Linked DNA regions of Homo sapiens: regions 1, 3, 4 and 5 are each linked to region 2. The links are contacts of gene promoters, found by promoter capture Hi-C in blood cells and fetal thymus (Javierre and others, 2016). All regions are on one chromosome and are shown on one strand. Each heading gives the region's core, a stretch centred on a gene start or on the middle of the fragment in contact. The rest is flanking DNA. Distances are from core to core; before and after follow the strand shown.

What was found. Contacts are between HindIII fragments. The CHiCAGO score rates a contact against its expected background, and 5 or more counts as called.
Region 1: the fragment with the promoter of DLG2 here is called in contact with the fragment with the promoter of CCDC90B in region 2 in 4 of 17 cell types (fetal thymus, naive CD8 T cells, non-activated CD4 T cells and 1 more); the score reaches 9.9 in fetal thymus.
Region 3: a contact is called between a fragment that was not itself captured here and the fragment with the promoter of CCDC90B in region 2, in 3 of 17 cell types (non-activated CD4 T cells, naive CD8 T cells and naive CD4 T cells). The highest score is 8.2, in non-activated CD4 T cells.
Region 4: a fragment that was not itself captured here is called in contact with the fragment with the promoter of CCDC90B in region 2 in 1 of 17 cell types (non-activated CD4 T cells); the score reaches 6.6 in non-activated CD4 T cells.
Region 5: a contact is called between a fragment that was not itself captured here and the fragment with the promoter of CCDC90B in region 2, in 1 of 17 cell types (naive CD4 T cells). The highest score is 5.4, in naive CD4 T cells.

The regions. Positions count from the first base shown.
Region 1 is chr11:85,625,894-85,628,593 of GRCh38, forward strand. It overlaps DLG2 (discs large MAGUK scaffold protein 2), which reads right to left and starts at 1,451. Exons shown (of 28, transcript NM_001142699.3): 1 at 1,325-1,451; 2 at 694-860. It overlaps TMEM126B (transmembrane protein 126B), which reads left to right and starts at 2,700. Exons shown (of 5, transcript NM_018480.7): 1 at 2,700. RefSeq lists enhancers at 1,497-2,005, 1,878-2,037, 2,118-2,167, 2,308-2,497. The HindIII fragment of the contact is 9,013 bases long and covers 1-2,700 here.
Region 2 is chr11:83,285,067-83,287,766 of GRCh38, forward strand. CCDC90B (coiled-coil domain containing 90B) reads right to left here and starts at 1,301. Exons shown (of 9, transcript NM_021825.5): 1 at 807-1,301. The coding sequence starts at 906. It overlaps CCDC90B-AS1 (CCDC90B antisense RNA 1), which reads left to right and starts at 1,054. Exons shown (of 3, transcript NR_186344.1): 1 at 1,054-1,481. RefSeq lists enhancers at 74-670, 559-638, 671-1,266, 689-1,338. The HindIII fragment of the contact is 4,800 bases long and covers 1-1,755 here.
Region 3 is chr11:86,065,599-86,068,298 of GRCh38, forward strand. All of the region lies in intron 1 of PICALM (phosphatidylinositol binding clathrin assembly protein), which reads right to left. Among named protein-coding and RNA genes, the nearest start is that of PICALM, 2.1 kb to the right of the region's middle. RefSeq lists an enhancer at 2,132-2,700. The HindIII fragment of the contact is 1,685 bases long and covers 450-2,134 here.
Region 4 is chr11:86,245,542-86,248,241 of GRCh38, forward strand. The region is part of intron 1 of EED (embryonic ectoderm development); the gene reads left to right. Among named protein-coding and RNA genes, the nearest start is that of EED, 2.1 kb to the left of the region's middle. RefSeq lists a silencer at 2,106-2,400. The HindIII fragment of the contact is 524 bases long and covers 1,056-1,579 here.
Region 5 is chr11:85,821,360-85,824,059 of GRCh38, forward strand. It overlaps a transcript of SYTL2 not described here. Among named protein-coding and RNA genes, the nearest start is that of SYTL2, 12 kb to the left of the region's middle. The HindIII fragment of the contact is 2,133 bases long and covers 281-2,413 here.

The DNA.
Region 1 (2,700 bases), core at 201-2,700, 2.3 Mb after region 2:
CCAAGTTCAGAATATAATCAACTATGCTTCAGGAATTCACTAGATCTTGATCAATTCCAATAATAAAAGTTGTTGAGGAGGGAGGAAAAAAACAGGTGTTTGCCCCATTTGGGGAACTTGACAATCATGTTATTGGATAATGCATATATCTGGAAAAGCACAATAGTCACGAAAGTTGTGCTTTATCACAAAAGTGAAGATTTACACTAGAATAAATCCAAATAATAAGTCTATTTTTTAACCAAAAGATAAATTATAAAGCTGTAATTTTGTTCAGTGCAAATGAAATTACTTTGCTACCTTTCACAATTCTGTAATTAGTTTGATAAATATTAAACCCATGAGGAAGAGCTCCACTGCACAAGTTTCTTTTTTAAAGACTGCTTAAAAGTAACCTTCAACAAGCTAAGAAAACAAGCTAAAGGAGACTCCAAATCTGCGGTACTGAATCTATTCTTATTACCAACGGTGATATAAACAACCTGATTTATGAAATCATAAATATCTATCAATAAATACTATAGTCTTGCTTCCTTTTACTTTAGTAAAATAATATTACTGAATTATGTACCACTGAAACTATATTACAATAAATATTTCCCCCAAACTGAAGCAAAACTTTACTCTCAAATGGAATATAATTTAAATTACAAGTACCAGAACCAACAAAAGGGAGAAATATTATATAGCAACCTTATGGCCCACCTGTCTTCTTGACTGGCATTCTTGGGTCTTTCCACTGCCACAGGAGTCAATATCTCTTTTCAGGTCTCAGTTTGATCCAGCTGGATTGAGGCCAAGAGCCAGGTAACTGTTGCAAACCACTTCAGTGTTCAGTTTTGAAATCCAGGCTGAGTCTTCTATGTCAGACAAAGAAAATAATGATGTATTTTTTCCACAACTAAACTTTTTACACCGCCCACAGAGTTTACAGCAACGTAATTTTTTAGTTTTTCAAGTTTTTCAATTTTCAGAAAATATTTAGACTGTTTTTACAAACTGGGAAAATTATTGTAAACATGAAGAACGTTACTGAAATTCCTCTTCAGGCAGCAACATTTTTGGAAGTTCAATGACTAACTCAATTAAGGCACAAACCAAATTTAGACAGGTCTCATTACTTTATACATGGTCAAATTCAAAGATGATGATAAAGATACTCAAATCTGTAGAGAAAAATGTAACCCCACCTCCCCAAAAATACTTTTAAAAATCTCTTTGACTCCAGTCTCTAAAAAGATAGGTGAGTTTGAACAGTTTTCTGTGGCAGAACACACATTGAAAGGCCCCCTTATATTTACTGATCAGAAGTTCCGGATCTCACCCCCTCAGTAACTCAGAATCCAGCTTGCTGTCCCTTTCATTTTTTTCTTCTGTGCTCTCCAAGCCCCCAGGCTTGATCCTTAATGCCCCTCTGATTCTGATCCTCCCATGTATTAACCGAGAGGATTGAAAAAAAAGGAAAGCAATCCCTTGGCATGGAGACATTAAAGTGACAGTGCTACTCAATGGGCACTTGATGCAGGATGAGTTGGCGAAGCAGATTTCTTCACACTGGAGTCATTCACATCATGCCATCTCTTCGCATTCAAGCAGCTCCCTATCCGGCGAGGAAAAACACTGAGACTTCGAGAGAAGCCAAACCTTCCCCCAAAGGTGTTTTCAGAGACGCCGTAGTAGTATTAGACATGTAAGCATAAGCTATGTAAACGGTCCGCGATTTCCTAAATGAGAAAGTGCAGCTGCTTGGCTTTCACATCCACCTTTTCTCTCAATCTCTCTTCAAACTACCCACCTTCCTTTTGCAGAAAAGACAAGACATTTCTTTGCCACCGCTGGCCACCCCTGCCCAAGCCCCGTTCTTTTAGGGAAGAGCACTGAAATGTCCTGCACCCTCCACGCGATGAAGTGTTTCCTCAGGCAGGAGCAACAGCAGCACTAGAAATTATATAACTCTCGAATTTGGCTTCTGTAAGACATGGAGACTGGAGGGTCGGGGGTTGCCGGTCTGGGAGATACTGCTGGGCATTTAACGTGCACAAAACAGCGCCAGGCCTTGCAGTGCCCCCCACCCCGAGACACGGCTGACAAGTGGGTCTTCTCGCGGGGGTAGTGGGCAAATTTCTCTCCGGTCTCTTTCCAAGCGGGGCTAAAGGATGCAAATTGAGGGGACTACAGACTGGGGAGAGGAGTCAGACGGCTGAGAGGAGAGGAGGCTAGTCGGGGCTGCTCTGACGGCGCTGGGCGGCTGGTCCGGGGTTTGGAGGAGGAGGTGCCCGAGAAACAGAGCTTTAACACCACACAGGCCAGGGCAAAGGGGCGAGTTCCCTCAAGGACTGAAAGGGGCAGGCAGCTAGTTCCCAGCTGCCCTGAGGAGAGGCAGGAGCGCAGTAACATTACAACATTCGGGCCGCCCCATCTTTCCCGCAGGACGCGAAGAGATCAGGGAGCTAAGCTGATAAATAGTCAGGGAAGGAAATACTCGGCTGGCGAGGGGGGCAGGCCCACAGGCGCCTGGACCTCCTCTAAGCGAATAAGTGGCCGTAATTTCTAGACGCCGCGCCCAATCACAGTCAGGATGGAGGGCGCGGCTTTTGACTGAGTGGGGGCGGGCCCGGGCTGCAATCGAGAGGCGTTGAGCCGTAAATCAGCACCACTTCCCGCCCAGGGCGTTCTGGGTCCCCGCCCACCGGCAAGTCA
Region 2 (2,700 bases), core at 51-2,550:
AACAATATGGAGTATAAATAACAGCGTAGAAGTGTTTGGGTACCGAATGGCTCAGCGTACCTGGCACTGAAGATTCAAGAAGGTGAACAGAGATAAGAGGTGCCTATTCGCCTATTTTGTGGACAACCTTAAAACGGTTTAAAAACTGGGAGGGAAGTTAAAAAACTGGGGGTGAAAAACAACGACGACAACAAAAACCTAGCCCTAGAAACATTTCTCTGAATAAAGTTAGATGTCTTCAGGACACCCTGTTAACAGGGGTGCCAACAGGTTGGAAACTTGTGGGTTCCAGTATTCACTTATTTTCCCAAAGTCTACAATGTGACTGAAATGTACTGAGAATTCCAGTGAGAATAAGGCAGACGTGGCCTGAAATTTATGATGCTGTCTACCAAAAACCTGGGCTCGAGGCCAGCACCTAAAAAAACAAAATCAAAATTTGATCAGGCCACAAAAGAAAACAGGACACCCTCAAACACAGATTACCTTACGTTGGCTCCTGACGAGATTACTAGCCTCTTGTCACCAAAAAACGGAAACAACGGCTGAGAAAGAAGCCGGGCGCGAAGCCCAGGCCTTCAAAGGTTCGCTTTAAGAACAGAAAGGCAGTGCTTTCCTCAGTCCTCGCCCCTTGGGGCGAGCTGGGCAAGTCGGGGCAGCAGGCAGCGGCGTCGCCCAGCACAAGGCGTGAATCCGGGAGGAGGGCGTGGCACCTTCTCTTCCCGTTCGCTCGAGCAGGCGCGACCCCACGGGCATCGTCTCCCTAGAGAGCACTCAGGCATCTATGACACGACGCCTTGCCTCACCTCTCCGCAGGGCCGGCGAGAAATGCCCGCGGGGCCTTGAAACCCAACGATCTCCTCTGCCTTGGGAGAGAAAGAGCCGCCAAGCCTGGCGACTATTCATGTCCTCAGAGTTTTCCGGTGGGAGGGAGGCGGAAGACGGGGTAAATCTCGCACAGGCTTTCGGGCAAGGTAGTTCTGGCACCACAGGAATGCTGGGAATTGTAGTTTTCGCTCTGTCACAAGCTCACCTCCCAGCGCAGGCGCCACCGTGGTCCCACGAAACTGGGTCTCTTCACAGACAGACCCACAGTTCGCGAGCATGGCTCAGCGCTGCCCCGCTTCTCCCAGCGCCCCTTCCCGACCTTTGAACGCCTTCACCGCCCTAGGAAAGCGAGATCTTGTCAGAGAACCTTCCGGCGCCTGTTTCCTGGCAGTGGGGCATAGTCCAACAGCTGGCTCCCCCAAGATAGCCAGCGGCCATTACGCGCTTGGGTCGGGGGAGATGGAGTCGCATTTAGCCGCACAGCAGCCTGGAACCTGAAGTTTTCGGCCGCTGAGCGTTCTGGGTGATTGCGTAGTGCGAGGGCCAACGAAACCTTCTGGGAAGTGTAGTCCAGCAAGCCGCTCACTTTTCGTGAGGCGTCACATCCTGCTGCTTCACCCTCTGGTGCACGGGAGGACCAACTATTTCAGTCGGTATGTCCTTTCTTTAGGGAAGCCGAATTCCTCCGTTTCTAGGAGAAATTCCTTGAATTTTCACCATTTATCCTTCTCAGACCTCAGTTACTCAAGACTGCTCCGCATAGTAAAATGCTGAAAGCAACAATGCACAGTAGTTGTATTAAAATGCACTAATACTCATGAATATTCTCTGTAAGTTGTAAAATGGCACACAGTTGTGCGGTGTTAGTGGCTTACTCTCTCAAGATTCTAAACAATTACGGCTAGGTTTCTATCTATATGTATTCAAAGCTTTGTGAGAGTCAACTAAGTAACAAACACCATTTCTAAGGCCCGAAGCACATTGAAAGAACAAAACTTGATTCCCGCCAACAACTGCTTTAACAGACAATTCATGAAGAGGAAATATAAATTGCTATTTAAAACACTGGGATGGCTGGGCGTGGTGGCTCATGCCTGTAATTCCAGCACTTTGGGAGGCCGAGGCGGGCAGATCACCTGAGGTCGGGAGTTCGAGACCAACCTGACCAACGTGGAGAAACCCTGTCTATATTAAAAATACAAAATTAGCCGGGCGTGGTGGCACATGCCTGTAATCCCAGCTACTCAGGAGGCTGAGGTAGGAGAATCGCTTGAATCCTGGAGGCGGAGGTTGCAGTGAGTCGAGATCACACCATTGCACTCCAGCCTGGGCGACAGAGTGAGACTCGATCTAAAAAAAAAAAAAAAAAATTGGGAAAAAAGTTTGATCTTACCAGTTTCAAAATACAAAACGCAAAACCTTAGGGTATATCGAGGTTAGGGGTCCCAATGATCCCAACAGGATGTAAGCATAGTACTCAACAGGTGCTTTTTCAACCCATGCCCCTCTGTCCGTCTCCCCCTTTCCTCATCTAATGATCCTCAATGCCTGTTGTTTCCACGTTTACCATCATATATTCAATGTTTAGCTCCTACTTATAAGTGAGAACATGTGTATTTGGTTTTCTGTTCTTGGCATTAGGTTGCATAGGATAATGGCTCCAGTTCCATCCATGTTGCTACAAAGAGTATAATTTCCTTATTTTTATGGCTGCATTATATTCCATGGTGTATATGTACCACATTTTCTTTATCCAGTCCACTGTTGATGGGCACTTAGGTTGATTTCATGTCCTTGCTATCGTGAATGGCACTACAATGAACATACGGTTGCATGTGTCTTTTTTTTTTTTTTTTTTTTTTTGGCTTGAGG
Region 3 (2,700 bases), core at 42-2,541, 2.8 Mb after region 2:
TGGAAAACTGAAGTTCTTCAAATATAAGGGCTGCTATTCCTCTACCTTGATTATGGCTACTAAAGGCCTAAGATTAAACGGAAATCGTGTTTATTTTTACAAACATATTTCAAGTTTGACAACTCTTTCACACTAGGGATGCTAGTCAACACTATTATCCACTAACACCTACAGTATAAGCAAAGCAAAAAAATCTTTCTTCAGTAAGTATATAATGTAGTATGAATTAAGCCATAATTCATGAATTATTAATAATCACTTCCTAATGTGGAAAGATCTTGGCGAGAAACTGACAGAAACCACCTCCACACTCTAAGGGCTTATACGAAAAACAACAGTCCTAAGCATATTTTTTGTTAAATGCTGCCATTTTAAAATGAAATCATTTTCATTAGATTCATATAAATAAGCATCAGTTGCTAGGGGCATTAAAAGGTGCACATAAACTAAGCTTTCACTATAAAGAAAAATTCCTAAAAGACAAAAAATTACTTGAAATGACAGGTTTCTGTATTAAAGCCTAAAGTTCATGATGTCAACACCATGAACTGTCCGTAGAAGACTTTTTAATTTTCTCAAAGCATGTTAGTGTGTGCAAGGAAGGTATTTGTTTAGTAAACCACTCACTGGTCAGACTTTACCTAAGATAAAGGTATTTTATTAGTGAGAACTGATTACAGGACATTTTAATCAACAATGTAGGGAAAATAGTATCCCTGTATTTTAAAACCTCATTGAAAAGAAACAGAAGCACATTAACGACACATATATTTTTAAATCAAATACTACCAGGTATATTCAAGTTCCAAAAACGTGGGAGCTTGTAAACACAGAAGTGGTAGAGAAAAAGAACGACAAATGCAAGATTATCCTCCAAACCTAATCCCAGTTACCATCTATCTGCAGTAGTGGCTATAACAAGAGAAATAGCTAATAACATTTATGAAACAACATGCAAATAGCACTCTTCTAACCCTACCTATTTTCTCCTCTTTTTGACAATGCTTTAAAAGAACCACTGCTACATTTGAAATAAGACACAAACCTTTACAAAAAAAACTTTTAAAAGCCTTATCGATTCTTATTTTGAATGAGGAAAGAGGAAAATAGTTCACACAGTCACAACTAGTTTCTTCATACTCCCATACAAAAAAAAAAAACAAAAAAAAACCAAAAGCAACTAACAAAAGAATTAACACAGTGTCAGGACAAACTGTAAGATTTGGTAGGGCAAACCAAGTAGTATTTGAAGAGCCGTAAATAGCAGAAACGTCTACTACACGTATCAGATAATCAAAAAATCACATATGGCTTTACGATGCATTTTAAAAAGTTTTCTGTTCATAAGAGTGTCACCATTTAAACATATTCTCCATTCTCTAAGACAAGCAAGGACTGAGAGTTTAAAAGCAGCCTGCATGCATATCTGAAAGAATCAAGCACTAATGCTTTTTTATTTAAAACTTTTTTCCACAGTGGAGGAACAATCACAAAGAATAATAGGCTTCTGTGTAGCAAAAACTTGTTCTAACAGCATTCATGAGCACAGTAACTTGGAAGAATCTACATTTCGTACATTTTTTTTAAAGTGCAAACTTTACGGCCAAAGTCCAAATGAGAAATCAAAACAGGCTTCCAGACAGTGAATTATCTTTCAGGGCATGCTCACTCTTGCTTCAAACAGTAAAACAAAGTAACTTTCATGTATGATGAAAGTCAGTCAGACTAATGTGTCCAGTCATTTAAAAAGGGAACTTACTTATCGTGACTATTGCCCTATTTTTCCCTGAAAAGTTTCAGGTCTAAGCTCCATTGGCTTGAGTGATCCAATGAGCTTTGTACCCTGGGGTAAAAGAGCGCAAAGAAAAAGGAGGGTATTACAGGTGACTTCCAGGTTAGAAAAAAGTTACGAGGAGTTAGCTCTACTAATTGTATCTACGTTAGCGAATGGACGAATACTATGTCGTGTAAGAGAAGCTAAAGCTAGTTCCTCAAAAGGTAACTGGCATAATTAAAACATCCAAACTCAAGCATCATCAAACATCATTTTGCCAATTTTTTTAAGGGATGTATGTTATTTGTAAGTAAATTTATTAATCCATTTGGAATTCCAACAGTCTACGCTTAACACTCAAGCTTCTGAATTCAAGCCGCCAGAATTAACAGTTCCAGGAACTGATAAGAGTATCAGCAAAATGCCTTTTTCCATATCCCCATGTGAAAAGCTGGGGGGCAGAGCTGACAGTCACAAACTCACCCCAGTCAAAAGTATGGACAACACAACGATTAAATTCCACCAGAGGCAAATAAAAATCCCAACTTTCCAGAAAGCTTTCCCTACACCAAATTGAATCCTTTTACTTTCACTCCCACAAAGAAGGTAATCTGAAATAAAAGTCGGGTAACTGGGTATGGTATTTAAAATGAGTCGAAGAAACTACACTGAAGCTACTATAGAGGCGATGAAAAGGTAACCCAAAAGCAGGAGGGAAGGTGGAACAGAAAGCCAGGAAGGGATGGGCGAAGCAGCTAGTGGAGCAAAGGAAGTGGGGGATCCCTTCCAGGGAGGCAGCCCGGAGGGATAACAAGGATCTGGATGCAAGGAACCAGGCGTTTACTGAAACCCGAAGGAGGCTGATGAAGAAACAATGGGGCTTGGAGACGCTCAGACGAGGGCGACGAGGCGGCACCGGACGGGTG
Region 4 (2,700 bases), core at 68-2,567, 3.0 Mb after region 2:
GGAGAGTGGTTCTAGTGATTGCGTGGGTCTGAGAAGTCTGCCCTGAAATCAGTTTGCATGTGATGGGGAGTGTTTTGGCCTTTGGGGGGATTTAAGGGGAGAGTGCGGGTCTGAGATTCTAGTAGTTTAAAAGGCACGTTAGAGACTTTTCTAAGAAAGTTGGAAGGACGGGGCAGAGTTAGGGACCCTGTTAAAGGAGCGTAAGGGTTGTCACTCTAAGACCCTTGTGGAATTTTCAGGATGGAAAGTGATCTTCGATTTGCGGAGTTTGGGAGACTTTATTAAAGGGGGTTTTGTGTCCGCCTCCGTCCTGTCCGCGGAGACCGGGTGCGCCTGAAGGTCGCCTTTTCTGTAGGAGGAGCCGAATTGAGAGGATCGATTTTTGATTTGGGGGTGGGGAGTGACTACCTTTGAGGAAGTAAGAGTGGGTGATTTCTTCTTTGAACGTTTTTACTTAAGATAAAGGTGAGGGGGGTGGCGACCTGGAAGATTTTGGGCAACAGTGGTATAGGCAGATGTATTTAAGTGTGGGTTCCTGGCTTCGCCAAGTGCGCGATGTTTTGCAATCAGATTTTTTTAAGCTCTGAAATGGGTATTCGTAATCATTCGGTACCAACATTTAACCCAACTGAGTTTTAATTGACTCGCCAGTAAGAGCCGAATTGACATAAATAAGTTTTCAGTTTCATGTTTTAGGTTGATAACCAGTAAGGTCAACGAAGTATCTTGACAATTTATTCAAAGATACTACTCCAAAATGTGATTCTCCTTCTCATGATATATAACAACTTGTGAATATCTTTTAAAAAATCCTTAAAATGTTTCAGAAGAGTGGCGTAAGTTCTTCATTTTCTCAGTTTGGCTAGTTTTAGGAATAAATGTTACATCTTCTACACGCAGTTTCTAAATTCTGTCATAATTCCTAGCTGAAACATATAATGATGTCATGACTAAGATTTTCACGGAAAAGATGGGAAAGGATTCTTTTTGCAGAGACAAGATAGATATTCTTGGGATTGTCAGTTTGTGGGATCTTAGACTTCAAATTTCAGAAAAGCTTGGGTGTTAAGTGTTACTTTTGTATTTTTCACCCGATTGTGCGCCCCAATCTCACTGTACATTGGGATCTAACATTTTTTACCCTCTTCTTTTTATTATTTGAAGACCGTTCATTTTATTTCTGCGTTTTCTTAAATTTCTCTAGGCAGATTAGAGTATTAAGAGCACAGATGCTGGATCCAAGTGATAGGTTAAAATTTCTGTTCTATTAGCTTGACCTCGAGCAAGAGACTGACATAATTGTCTTAGTTTCTTAAAAATGAGGATGGTGGTGTATGGTATTTACCTCATAGAGTATTTGTAAGCATTAAATGAGTTAATATAGCTAAAGTACTAAGAAGAGTGTCTGCCCCATAGTAAGTACTATACACATGTTATTTATTTATAATAATTACTACTACTAATTTTATGATTACATAGAATAATGTTTCTGGCTCTTCCACATACTTAATAATCAGGCAAAATATAATGAAACTGTCAGACCTGTTTAGAATGAAGAAACTTGCAAAGGACAAAATAAAGCTTATTTTCTTCTTGCAGACCCTTACAGGAAAACATATTCTTTGCTGCAATTTTAAAGCTGTTCAAGACCAAATGATTGGATTAGTTTTGTTTTGGTTCCTCCATTTGGATAGCCTTAATTTTGTGTGTGTGCGTGCGCATGCCTTGGAAGCCTTAATCTTGTAGAGTCTTCTCAAAATAACATTTTTAGATGTATGAAATACAGGATATGAGGTTACAAACAAATTCAATTATAAAATTGTACACCATGTTATAAAATATTTCTAAAACAAATTTTAGATGTAGTCCTATACTATATGTACTTTATTAGCACATTAAGTAACAAGATCTAGCAGCGGGTCTGATAGTAGTGATGGGTATAAACACTTTTTCGAAGTGTAATATAAAAATACTTGATTTCCATTGGTGGCAGAGTCACAACTTCAGTAACATTAAGCATGTGTTACCTAGATAATAATAGAAGGAAGTGCTAAATTTTAAAGGTGGCAAAAATTAAGATGCAATTTTTTTTCCCCATTTGAGTTCACAAGCCTTCTGAATTTCATCCATGTACCCCTGACTTAGGGGCAGTAGTAAGGTAAGGGAGTAGAGAACATTGTATAAAAATGAGTTTAGAAAAGATAAGGGCAATAGTTTTACTCTTGAGGGAGCCAAATAATGGCAAAAGGCCAAAGCAGATGGGGTGTGGGGGAATATGTTTTTGTGTTAGAGTTCAGGTAACCTGAGCAGTTACTACTGTTAATGTGAGTCAGAGAATTACAGGCACATATTTTACATTTATTGTGTTACCTGCCATTTTATTGAACTTTTTGAGATCATATGACTGCAGAGTAGTTGGCTTCTGCGAGAGTACTAATGGATGCCTTGGTAGTAAGATCAGAGGGCTGAATCTGGAGACTTGTCTTTTTGCTTAAGCAAAAGCAAAGATGCAGGGAATCCCTGTGGCAAGATGCAGGTGCAAATTACTGCCCTGTGTCTCTTTCCTCGTTGGGCAAGTGAAGATGGTAGTACCATGTCTGTTGCACAGTATCATTCTTTACTTTGAGAATGGAATAGGATGGAGGTCACCCTGTACATATATTAGACACTCAGCAAAGACTTGATTTTAGTTTAAAGATA
Region 5 (2,700 bases), core at 97-2,596, 2.5 Mb after region 2:
AAAAGGGAAAGGTGAGACTTGAGCCACGTTAAAGAAAGAGTAGGATTTTTAAAAGAGGAATAACAGGGACAACTGGAGGTGAAGGCACCAGAGCTGGGAGAAGCAAGCCGTGATTGAGAGACACAGGTTCCAGTGGGACAAAGAAGGCGAGTGTTAGGAAGCAAAGGGAGCAGAATGGCCAGACATGTTAAAATCAGATTATAAAAGGCCTGGAAAGTCCAGCAATGGTACAGTTAAATATAACAAGCAACTGAAGATTTCTGAGCAGAAGAATGAAAGAAGCTTAAGTATGTGGAACGGACTCAGGGACAGGAGCTATATATATGTCCATTTTCAGTTTTTGGTCAATGTTTTTTGAGATTAAAGGAAGTAGATTCAGTACCCAGAGAGGTAATGTGCTCACAGCAGAGCCAAGACAAACATAAGATGACTATATACACATGAGCATGTGGCAGAGATGAATGAGCCAACATCCAACCACTCCCCAGAATCCAGTGGGAGAGCACAACCACTGGGTGTTGTTGCTCTTGAATAGCTCTACCTGAATGACTGTGCTAGACCCTGCCAGTGGCAGCAGAGCCAGCCACACCAGCACTGGGGCCCTGGCCATTTCCACCCTTAGTTGGGCCTCATAGAGAGCCCTAGGTGCTCAAAGACTCATTTATCTGCTTTCCATTTCAAAGAGATCTAATAGTTATACCAAATTCATTGAATCCTTACCACATCCCTGTAAGGCAGGTGTTACCACTCCCATTTTACAAGTGAGGATACTAAGGATCAGAGAGGTGAAGGGATTCGCACCCTAGTCTGTCTCCTCTCAAAGTCTGTTCTTGCAGCCAGTTTTCTCTGTGAGTCTCAGGTGTAAGCAGACTACCAGATCAATGATCTCGGACTCCTAGTCATGGGGTCTGGAATGGCTACTGCTAACAAAAAATGAGCTTGGAGCCCACCCCTTGCAGCAAGGTACAGCCTTGCCCCAACCTTGGCCATGCTCAAGCATCTATAAGACTGGATCTTACTATTTGCTCTACACTTTACTTATTCTGCCAGGGCAGAGAACCTGTCTTGAATCCCTGAGCCATTGACCTTCTCCTGTCAAACTCCTCCTCCTAGTTGTGGTCCTATTCCAAATTAGATGAACCCCTGCAAACTCAGCCTTGCTGCCTGCCTGGATCTGAGAGCCATCACTGTCTGGAAACTGCTGCTGCTAAGTTCCACTCCCTGACATCTCATTTCCCATTAGGTCAGGGAGTATCTAAGGCTTCAAATCAGAAACTATAGCTGTGCTCAGATTGGGATAGATCTGGCCATTAGCTAGGGGAAGTAGTAGATAAAGACAAGAAGGAATCCCAAGGAAAGTATTTAGGGACAAAGGCAAGAAGAGGAATCCACAGTCAGGCCAAAGAAGTATCAATCCAAAGAGCCTGGCAGAGAGGACGGACAAGCTGACAGGGAGTAGGACCGTAACTAACGCCAACATTAAGGAACAAGTGCATGCAAAAGGGAGGATGGAGGTGCAAAAAGCAATGACTTCCCAAGCAAGCACTTGAATATGGAGACAGGGCCTCCTTGTAGGCCTCTGAGTGTGAAGAGAATGGTAAGGTCGCCATGCTGGCTTAAACACTTGGACCTAACCTTGTGGCTGTGACTAAGCCCTCAGGCATTATCATGGAACATTGGTTGCTTTCACCACAATCCAGCCTAGTCCCAGCCTCCTCCCTCTTGCCACCCTCCTTCATTTATTCACTTACTCAACTAACAAACATTTGAGCCTCCACTAGAATATAAGTTCCATGCAGGCAGAAACATTGTCTTTTTCATCATTTTAAGGCTTAAAATCCAAAGCAGTTTCTGACACATAGTAGGCACTGGATATATTTGTAGAATGAATAAATAATTGATGAGTGTTTGGGAAATGTGCTGAGTCCTAGATTATCTTCTAGTGTGCCAATAGCCTTAAATAGAATATCAAGTACATGTTGCCGGCTGACATTCACCAACAGTAAAATTCAAGATTTTAGTAGTCTAGCAGCTGCCAGCTTGCACAGTCTTCAGTCAGATACTTTCTACATTAAGATCATTTACAAATTTCTAAGGCAAGAAATAGCATGTGGACTTGAAAGAAGGTAAAGATATAGTTTACCCATTATGCTTTATATTAGTACTTTAATCCACTTTTAAAACATCTAAAATGTACTAATTTATTTCCCTTTTTGTTTCTTTAAGTTTCCTATTTTTAAAACACTTGTGGTCAATTCTATCAATACTACTAAGTATCCGTTACTGGGTTGAAAGGAATTTTCCATAGAAAAATGCCTGGAAATTGCCAAAATTATACAGTCAAAAATTATAGAGTTGGACCACAAGACCTTTTATACTTGAGTGGAATACCAAAAAGAAAATATTGATGCAAAGCTTTAAGATTTTACTCCGGGTTACTTCTTAAGGCACTAGCTCAAATAACACTCAAAAGTTTTCAAGATGCATGTAAACTCTACGTAAGCTCCAGTCATCTATGTGCTGACTACAGGATGCTGTGGTTAGTCAGGTTGAACTTCCATCAGCCACCTTCATGTTCAGAGTAAACAAGTAACAATTCTGGGACTTGCAAAGAAACCATGGGAAACCCTGAATGGGACTTTAACTTTGAATTAAAGGAAACCACAGGCCACCACACTGCCACCCATGAACATGTTTACA